Regions from separate parts of the Homo sapiens genome. Here region 2 is linked to region 1. Evidence: promoter capture Hi-C in 16 types of primary human blood cells and fetal thymus (Javierre and others, 2016). All regions are on one chromosome and are shown on one strand. Each heading gives the region's core, a stretch centred on a gene start or on the middle of the fragment in contact. The rest is flanking DNA. Distances are from core to core; before and after follow the strand shown. Region 1 holds the start of EDN2 (endothelin 2). Region 2 overlaps HIVEP3 (HIVEP zinc finger 3).

Region 1 (4,910 bases), core at 979-3,478:
CTGGGTTCATTTAATGCTTCTATTATGTTTCCCCGGCTCGGAGCCTCTGGTTCCCTATTGTCTTGAGCAGGCGTTTTGCATTTGTGTAAAGATTAGACGCTTTATAACCTTCCCTCTTCTCCCTATGGTTTCCCTCTTTTACTTTCTCAAATCTGAGTTCTTTCTTTCTGGCTACGCACTGCTTCCTCATTCTCCCCCTCTCTCCCTGCCTGTCTTTATCTGCCTCCCTGTTTGTTTTCCTCCCCACCGTGACCCCCTCCGTCTCCCCGCTGACCTGCTTTTCCTTCTTTCTTCTCTTCACGGTCCAGCGATTTGAATTCTCTATCCACCCCCAAGCAGCCCCCAGCCCTGCTTAATTCCGTATTCATATTCTTGCAGAGGCTGATAGAAATGACTGTGAGTATTGCTCACCTCATTCCAGAAATACTCTTCTAAATTCTTCGAGAGGCACGACGTGGGAGGGCAGAGAGCACCTCACGGGGAGTCCCTTGTGCTTTGCTTGATAGACCAAGCCACCTGCCCGCTGGGTGGCCTTGACCAGGCCCTGCTCCTCTCTGAGCCTCGTGGGCAGTCCTGAGCTGACTCCCCTGTGATAATAGCTGCCTCCTGGGGTTGTGGTGAGGAAGAGTCGATAGTGCTCCAAGCACGTAGTAGGTGCTCAGGAAACATTTGTTTGTTTTTTTCACAGGAGCCAGCTCAGTCTCCAGGAAGGAAGATCCTGCTCTCACCCTCCATCAGTTCTGCCAGTTTCTCCAGGATTTCACACATGCACGCTTGCTCTGGGCACACCCTAGGAAGATGCAAACTTGCCTGTTCCTGGTGGTCACCTACTGTCCCCTTCATAAATGTCCAAGGACAAAGGAGCTGCTGAATACAGGAACTGAGCATTGGGCATCCTGGGTTCTGTAAGTGGAAAGCCAGGTGTGCATCTCTTGACCCCCCTGCCCTCAGGAAGCACTCGCAAGGCCCCTACTGTGTGCAGGGTAGGTGTCAGGCCCTGCCTCCTCTGGGGCTCTGGACCTTGAGATTGCAGGGGAGATAAGTGCAATGGGATGAGTCAGGCAGGCACGAGAGGCACAGGCCCTGGGAATTCCAAGAAACGAGAGGGCCTTTCCTGTTGTGCCTGGAGACAGGGTCCCTGAGAAGACTCCAGCAGGAAGTGGACTCTCAGCCAGGGCAGGAACAGAGGGTGCCTGCCGGTTCCCTGAGCTGCTCAGCACAGCTGTGGTTCATCCCTGCTTTCCCCTCCCCGGCAAGGCTTCTGGGCCAGCAGAGGGGCAGGAGCAGAATGCCAGTCCCCAGAGAAGTCCCCTGGCTTACTTCTTTTGCAGACAGTAGCCCCCGGTGGAAGCCAAGACATCCTGTCATGGCCAGGACAGGAGACTGTTCAAGGGGCGCTTTGTGTGTGTGTCCTCAGGGACATCTTTCTGGAAAGGGGTCTGAAGCCACCTTCTTAGTCTCAAAGGAGCCTGTAAGCCAAGCAGGTGAAGTACCTTCTTGTTTTGGCCTTGTTTGCAAACAAGGAAACAGGCCCAGGAAGGATGCCCTTGGCCATGGCTGCATAGCTGAACAGCTTCTGGAAGGGACTAGAACTCCTGCCCCAGGCCCTGGGGTGACAGGGCAGGGGTTGAGGGGGGCATTTCCTGGGTGAGGTGGGGATGAAGCAGTTCCAGGCTGGTCAGAAGTCAGGCATGAGCTGTGTCCTTCACAGAGGGAGGCAGGCCCAGAGAGGGCTCTGACTCGCCCAAGGCCACACAGCCTTGCGTGGGCCTTTCACATCCCACACAACAGAGGGGCATCCTCAGCCTGGTTGGCAGAGGGCAGGCAGGATAGATGGCAGAGTCTTCTCCGAGGAGAGGGGTTTTGCTCATGGAACCTCCTCCTCCACACTCACAGCCCTGGGCGAGACCTGTGGAGCAGCCGCCAACAGAGTGAGGGAGGGGGCTCGGGGCAGCTGGGGGTGACTTGAGGAAGTCCAGCTGGACTGCGAGGGGCCCCTGGGGACTGCCAGGGAGCCTCAGGACTCCCAGAGGTGCTCCAGGCACAGAGGGAGGAATGGGCCTTCCATCTCCCTCCCCCCTTCACTGCAGAGGCTGGGTCGGGCCAGGCGCCCGGGGAGGAGGCGGTGTCCCTGGCTCCCAGCCCGCCGGTGCAGCGGGGCAGGGCTGGACCAGAAGGGGTGGGGCACCGTGCCTGGTATAAGAGGCAGCCAGGGCACCGAGGCAATGAGCTATCTGCTCAGCTTAATAGCAGGACGCTGGCAACAGGCACTCCCTGCTCCAGTCCAGCCTGCGCGCTCCACCGCCGCTATGGTCTCCGTGCCTACCACCTGGTGCTCCGTTGCGCTAGCCCTGCTCGTGGCCCTGCATGAAGGTGAGCTGCCCTGGCCTCACCTGCTGCCTACAGCTCCTGGGTCTGCCTATCTCTGTCTCCCTCTAGGGCTGCAGTGCCTCCCAAGCCAGCTGGGGGCAGACAGGGGCGGGAGCCTGGCGGCAGTGGTGGCAGGGGAAAGGTTCTGCAAATACAGAGGTGCCCAGGCTCCCCACGGGCTGCTGGGACTTCCCTGGGCTGGCCTGGAGCTCTTGAGCAGCAAGAGTGCCAACTCCCTCGATTATGCAAGAGGAGGGGCATGGTGGGTCCCCCACTCTGGGATGTGCCAGGCACCCCAACCCACCTCTCCACCTCTCTCTCCCTCCTGTGCATGCAGGGAAGGGCCAGGCTGCTGCCACCCTGGAGCAGCCAGCGTCCTCATCTCATGCCCAAGGCACCCACCTTCGGCTTCGCCGTTGCTCCTGCAGCTCCTGGCTCGACAAGGAGTGCGTCTACTTCTGCCACTTGGACATCATCTGGGTGAACACTCCTGAGTGAGCATCCATGGGGATTGGGGGCAGGGGGAGCTCTGGGGCAGGGTGTCAGGGTGGAAGCTACTGGCATGCTAGGGAACGTTGACACATTCCATCTCTCCCTGGGCCTCCAGATGGAGGCACTGGCTAATATCAATAGTTAATTGTTTCAATTCCTGAGTGGGGACCACCTGAGCCATAGAGAGGGCTGTCTTCTGAGAATTCTTAAGACAGCCTGGTAAGCAAGTGTTGGCCCCGTTTTCCAGATTCAAGTGCTGAGGCTCAGAGAGCTTAAGCGCCTCCCCCAAGATCACACAGGTAATTGTAAGGGTAGGCACCATCCTCGGTTGGGGAATGCCGGAGCTCACAGTCTCTGTCATGCTGCCTCTGCATGCTCTTCCAATAATAATACGATTAGTGACAGCACCCGTGCTTTGACTATGCCAGGCTCTTTGCCAAGCACTGCACGTGCATGATCATCTCAGGAGCCCCCCCATCCTCCCCATAAGGCAGGATAGTCCCTCAAACGACAGATGAGAACCTGCCCTGTGCTACTGGCTACACCCGGGTGGGAGCCCCGTGCTGTCTGTTCCGCCTGCACCCGCACTGCCTCCAGGCCACTGCATACCTTCAGTTGAAGTTTCTGTGTGTGTTTGTGATTTTTTCCCCTCCCCAAATTGCAAAAGGCAAGAGAAGCCCTGCACGTAAGCGTGTGTGAAGCTAATCCGCATCCAAACACTTGCTTAGGGCGGGAACCCTGCCAGTCCCTGCGTGCTGAGTCTACCTGGAGTCACTGCGACTCCAACCACACCATCTAAAATTAGCTCTGTCACTCGAAAGTGCTGGTCTAGCCAGCCACAGGGCCCCTGCCATTCCCCTGGCCCGCTTGATCAGACTCTGAATCTGAAATTAATCCCATCTGAACACACACACACACACACACCCCACTTTCAAGTCAAGCCTCTAAGGCACATGTGTTACCCCTCCAGGCAAGTGGGGACCAGATGGGGGCAGCTTAGCTATGAGCCTGTGTTTACTTCTGTGAGATGGAGTGGCCGCCCTTCCTCCAGAGCTAGCTGAGAGCCTTCTTTGAGAACAGGGGGACCAGCCTGTCTGAGAGGGGAGAGAGACTAGGAGGTTCCCAATTCCCAACTTCAGGTAGGATCACAGATTTCCTTGCCCCCATGCTGGGAGCTCTCAGTGAGCCAAGCCAGGCCCAGAGAAGGGGAGGGTCTTGCCAAGGGCTACCAGGACCCTTGTGGAGTAGCCTGTGACTTCAGTGGTGTGACTTCTTGAGGTCAAGGGCTGGTCACCTTTCATTGGCACCCTGCTGGCATGGGTGGCTGTCCCAGTGGGCAGTGTGGACAGTCCCTGCTTGCCAATGGTTGTGGTTTATTTAATCCTCTCTCTCTTTATTTTTTTCTCTCTCTCTCTTTCTCTCCACCCCACACCACTACCTTGCTGGCTGCCCGCCCACAGACAGACAGCTCCTTACGGCCTGGGAAACCCGCCAAGACGCCGGCGCCGCTCCCTGCCAAGGCGCTGTCAGTGCTCCAGTGCCAGGGACCCCGCCTGTGCCACCTTCTGCCTTCGAAGGCCCTGGTAGGTGGGCACCCAGCCTGCAGGGGCATAGGGTAGCTGCAAGCCCGGGCATGCCCTGGGGAGCAGGTGTCTGGGAGACTAGCAGAGGAGCGAACTGGCAAGTTGGGGGTGAGAAGCGACCCAGGGGCCCACAGGCTGCTTTGGGTCCATGGCACCATCCCTTCTTGCAGGAACCAGTCACCCATGGGGGCCTCCCGGTGCCCAGCTCTGGGGGCTTCTGGGAACACTCATGTCCTCACTCCTGGGCAGGAGAGAGTCTGCCAGTGACAGCTGAGGCAGCTCAGGCCCAGAGAGGGGGCAGGACACGTCAGGCTGCATAGCTTGTCAGAAGGAGGGCCAGGCCTTGGGCCTGAGTCTGTCTGATCGAGTCCTACTGGGCTTTGGATTCCGACCTGAGGTTCAGGGGGACTTTGGAGCTTGCTCGGGGAAGAAATGGCATCTGGAGTTGGGAAGCCATGTCACCAT
Region 2 (4,957 bases), core at 1,279-3,778, 360 kb before region 1:
CAGGAGAATTGCTTGAATCCAGGAGGCAGATGTTGCAGTGAGCCAACATCATGCCACTACACGCCAGCCTGGCAACAGAGCAAGACTCTGTCTCAAAAAAAAAAAAAAAAAAAAAAAAAAAAAAAAGAAGAAGAAGAAGGTGCTCTCTCATCATTCTTCTGTACATTCATTTGTTCATTAGACAGATATGTATAGAGAATCTGCTGTGTCCCAAGCACTGTTCTAGGTGCTGCGGTTATAGTGGTAGACAGAAAGGTAAAGTTCCTGCCCTCTCGAAGCTCACATCCTACTTTCAGGGGGTAATGAGCAAGTAGATGATGAACAAATGTTTTATATAGTTCTAGGGCTATAAGGAGTGTAGAGAAGGCTGATGAGATGCAGTGTAACTGGCAGGAGGGGAGTGAGAACTACTTGGGTAGATGATCAGGAGATACTCTGCAAGAGGAAACATACAGAAGGAGCCTGACATGAGAAAACTGGGGCAGCAGTTTTCCAGGAAGAGGGACCAGCACAGGTCCAAGTTGAAACTCAGAATGGAATTTTAGGAAATTATATTCTTCATGATGGTTAGATCCTGTGGGCTATCATCACTGCAGTTCAACAATGTGGTGCCTAGTAGGAAGAGTTCTCCCAGGAACCCTCCACGTGTGCTATGGGATTTCTGAGAAAACCAGTTCTGAGTTCTAGGCAGTGGACTCACAGTTGAACTTGGAGGGAACCAAGAATTGCTTCCATCATAGCCTTACTAAGAAATGACCATGGCATGGCCTGAGTGCTTCGGCATGGAGGACCAGAAGGGGAAGCCCTAATTTGCCAGTTGCAGACTCTTGAGCCTTGTGACTCTAATGACGACAAAAATTAGGAGATTTTCTAGGACTCCACGTTTGCGATTTTGAGAGTAGTGCTGCTGGGGTTCCTGGTTTGGGTTCTATTGATTGTTTCATTGTTTCTGTGTGCAAGTTACCCTCTCTAAGCTTAGTTTAATTAATATTATATTAAGTGAGGTAGTTAGATTATATGAACCCTAAGGCTCCTTTTATTCTTAACCTTAAAATAAAAACATTTTGTAAACAGTTTTTCTTTGTGTGTGTGGTGGCCTTTTCTGTGCCTCTGCTTTGGATGAGGTTACAGGGCTGAGTGCGAGTGAGTCATTAGTGGTTCCTTTGATATAAGACAGGTGATACTATTGAACACTGTTGGTGGTAGACCAGTGGTTCTCAAAGTGTGGTCTCTGGACCAGCAATAGCTGGGCTTGGGAACTTGTTAGAAACTCTAGCTGTCAGCCTCCACCCCAGACCTACTGATTAAAAAACCGTAGGAGTGTAACCAAAACTCTGTGTTTTAACAAAGTCTACAAATGATTCTGATGCATGCTAAAGTTTAGGAACCACTAGAGTAGAGTATGTGCTTTAAGATTTGGGTCTACCGGCCAGGCGTGGTGTCTCATGCCTGTAATCCCAGCACTTTAGGAGGCCAAGGTGGGTGGATCCCAAGGTCAGGAGTTTGAGACCAGCCTGGCCAACATGGTGAAACCCCATGTCTACTAAAAATACAAAAATTAGCTGGGCATGGTGGTGCATGCCTGTAGTCCCAGATACTCGGGAGGGTGAGGCAGGAGAATTGCTTGAACCCAGGAGGCAGAGGTTGCAGTGAGCCGAGATTGCGCCATTGCACTCCAGCCTGGGCGACAGGGCAAGACTTGGAAAAAAAAAAAAAAAAGATTTGGGTCTACCACTGATGGATCCTTACATTCCAGTCACTGTCATGGTCACAGCAAGTAGTTGCATGTCTGTGCAAATATTGCAATAAGATGTTTATTCAGCTTGGCTTGGTGAACAGTCCTGTGACTCTAAAGCAGAAAATGTTCCTGGCCTGTGCTAGGACTGGACCCACACTCTCCTCCTTGGTATTATGTCCCATCCACTCCTCTAGGTGAGCATCTGCATGGAGGAGGGGTTAGCAAGGAGGCAGGCTGCTTCCAGAAGTTGTGACAGAGTGCTGTTGGATGTGCTTCTGGGGAGACTGATGTAATTGGAGAAGTTTGTGCATGGTTAGTTTCCACACATTTTTAAAGTATGAAACTGTCTTGGGTTTCTAAGTCCTTGGTAGATATATCTGCGTGCATCTGTCGTGAAGATCAGTGGTGATGAAAGGTCTCAGGTGCCATAGAATAAGCAATCTGGTGACCCTGCTGCACACTGAGTTTAGAGTTCTGATTCAGTTTGGTTTCCCTTATCTAAATGTCCACTCGTGAACTAGAATGAGGTGACCAGATGGTCCAGATCACCCAGGACTGCCCCGTGTTTCCCCTTCCTGTCCCTCTCAGTCTGGTGTCTCGGATTTGTTCCTGTGTTGCCCACTCCTGCTGGATCTTGTCCAGTCGAGGGACAAACGTCCTGAAGAATGGGAAGAAAGGAGGTTCTGAAGGCACAGATTCCAATACCATGCCAGAGGTTGAGGACACTGGTGCTTGAAGGGAAACTGGCACACTCTGGAGCCCCAAGAAGAGCTGGAGCTGGAGGCATGCGGCCCACGAAGGGTAGAAGTAAGTTCATTTCTCTGGTAGGGCTTAGGGGAGGGGTAGTCACAGGTAGGGCTTGGGATGTGGGGCTGGGATGGCTCCTACAGGGCCAGAAGGCAAAGAAAGGGCAGCAGATGGGCACAGCAGGGACAAGGGTGTGGTGAGGAATCTGACTGCTCCAGCCCAAGCTGGCATGGCCTCTCTGCTCTCGCCTTCTGCCCTCTTTCTGTAATCTTTCATCTCTGAGGATGTTGGGCCATTCCTGGGTCCCTCCTTCTTCCTGCAATTCTCTCTACCCTTCCACCCTGTTGCCCTCTCCCCTCCCTCGCTTCCTATTGTGTCCTGCCCACTGCCGATTCCATCCTCCTTATCTCATGTCTATCCATGATTGACATGATGGAAATGGCACAGTAGAGTCCAATGGTGATAAGCACTCTCCGTGTTTGCAGGTACCAGCCATGACCAAGAGCCCTTCACATCATCTGGCAATCCATCCAGAACCCACTGAATGGAGGACAGCACAGCGAGGTCTTTCTCATTTTGTAACTGCAAAAGCTGGAACAAGAGCCAGAGAAGCCAAAGAAGCAGTACAAGTCCAACAGCTTTTAGAATAACCCTGAGAAAATGGTTGAATTTTGACCAGTTTTGCAATTGGATACTATGAGAAGAGACCTTCCCTCCTGCACTGGATTTCATCATCATACCTGGAGGCCATTCCTCATGGGACTTTGGCCATCTCATATCCACCTTTAAGCATGTTATTCCCATTTCAGCTGTGGTAGCTCTGGGTATCCTTCCCTAGGAGAAAATATTAATCTTTTCTCCCTCTGAGTTCTGGATTAAACTGTCTTATCTGAAACTGGGTCACTTTAGGCTAGAAGCACCACTAGACATTCCTGTTCTCAGAAGTTGCCAAGTTCATGTCATATCTGTTTCATTGTTAACGGGATCCACTTCTGCAAGAGGCTGCCTGGCCAGATCAGTGTGTCTCCTGGTCAGCTCCTTGATGCCCTTCTCCTCTCCCCTGCCCAATCCCAGCTGAGACTTGCACTGTGGTGACTCTGTCCCCTCCTGGTGCTTTGACTGGATGTGTGAGAGAAAGTATGGTCTGTGGCACTGACATCTTTGTGTGTTTGGAGGTGACTGGAACACGGATCCACCCCTGGAGGAAGGTGGCCGTGAAGGAGGCCAGCCTCAGCTCAGCGTTCTACTCTCATCGCTCTTACTCCCGCCTTTTTAGTGCCTGCCCTACTCCAGGATAATTGTGCTTTTCTTTTTTCAGTTAAATGTTAGCATTGCTATTTTTCATTATTGCAAAGCAGCACATGCTTGTTACAAAAACTTTGGAAGTGTAGACAAATAAAAAGAAGAAAAAGCTACTTCCAAATCCTACTTACCCCAAAGACAAGATGATCATTTAGTCATATAGTATCATACATATATAATATGTACACATATATTTTAATGTAAGTGTAGTGTCACAATATCATGTATAGTCTTTCATAAAACACGTTGGCACTTAATATCTTATATGAACAACTTTCTAGAGCAACAAGCTTAGTTTACAGCAATTGTAATGTAAGAGTACTCATTTACATAGCTACAGCATCCTTTGTTTACCTCATCTCTTATGGTTTGATGTTTAGGTTGTTTCCAACTTTTCTCCACCTAAACAGCATTAATAAATGTGGTTTTAGTTTCCTCTTCCTATGACTAATTATTTCCTTAAGATGAATCCCCAGAAAAGAATCAAAAGAAAATTTGCAAAAGTTACAAAGATGTCAAAGTATGGAGCCAGCATTAACTGCTCAGAACCCAAATGCATGAGAGACTAGGTTGCTGGGAAGGCCACATATGCCCTTTCCTGGATGCCTTTATATAGCCACACTTGGGTGGCTCTGGCTTCCGTTGCCTTGCCTGGAACAGGGAATACCCATGAATGATGACTGAGGTGAGCAGGCAGTGAATGAGGGAGTGGTGTTGTCTCTTTGGGGTTAGTATGTGGCTATATCCCATGAGTGCTCATTGGATGCTGAGAAACAGTCATTTGTTCATTCTTTCATTACCCATCTATGGAGGAGCCGCTGTTGCAAGGCACCAGGCAAGAGGCTGAGAAGACAAAGATGAATTAAATAGGGACTTCATTCTTGGGAAGATCACAGCCTGGCAAAGGCCAGTGACTCATCACACACATTTACTTCACAGTGTAGTAAGAGGAAAAACAGAAGTTCAGTAATGCATCTCAGGGCAGAAAACTTGGAAAAATCTGAAAGTCCCAAGGAAAAAATATGAAACATCACATAATCCTCTGGCCCATTCCTCACAGCGAACACGTTCAGGTGTATCCTTTAGGCTATGAGCCTGGCTTGCTTGTGGTCATCCTCACCGGATACAACCTTGACGGCATTGCCTGTGTCCTGCATTGGCACCTCTGGT

The links. Contacts are between HindIII fragments. The CHiCAGO score rates a contact against its expected background, and 5 or more counts as called.
Region 2: a contact is called between a fragment that was not itself captured here and the fragment with the promoter of EDN2 in region 1, in 1 of 17 cell types (erythroblasts). The highest score is 5.1, in erythroblasts.

What each region holds. Positions count from the first base shown.
Region 1 is chr1:41,482,001-41,486,910 of GRCh38, reverse strand. It overlaps EDN2 (endothelin 2), which reads left to right and starts at 2,228. Exons shown (of 5, transcript NM_001956.5): 1 at 2,228-2,373; 2 at 2,708-2,864; 3 at 4,323-4,445. The coding sequence starts at 2,310. RefSeq lists enhancers at 1-1,121, 3,970-4,910. The HindIII fragment of the contact is 6,202 bases long and covers 1-4,910 here.
Region 2 is chr1:41,846,459-41,851,415 of GRCh38, reverse strand. The region is part of intron 1 of HIVEP3 (HIVEP zinc finger 3); the gene reads left to right. Among named protein-coding and RNA genes, the nearest start is that of HIVEP3, 70 kb to the left of the region's middle. The HindIII fragment of the contact is 3,103 bases long and covers 977-4,079 here.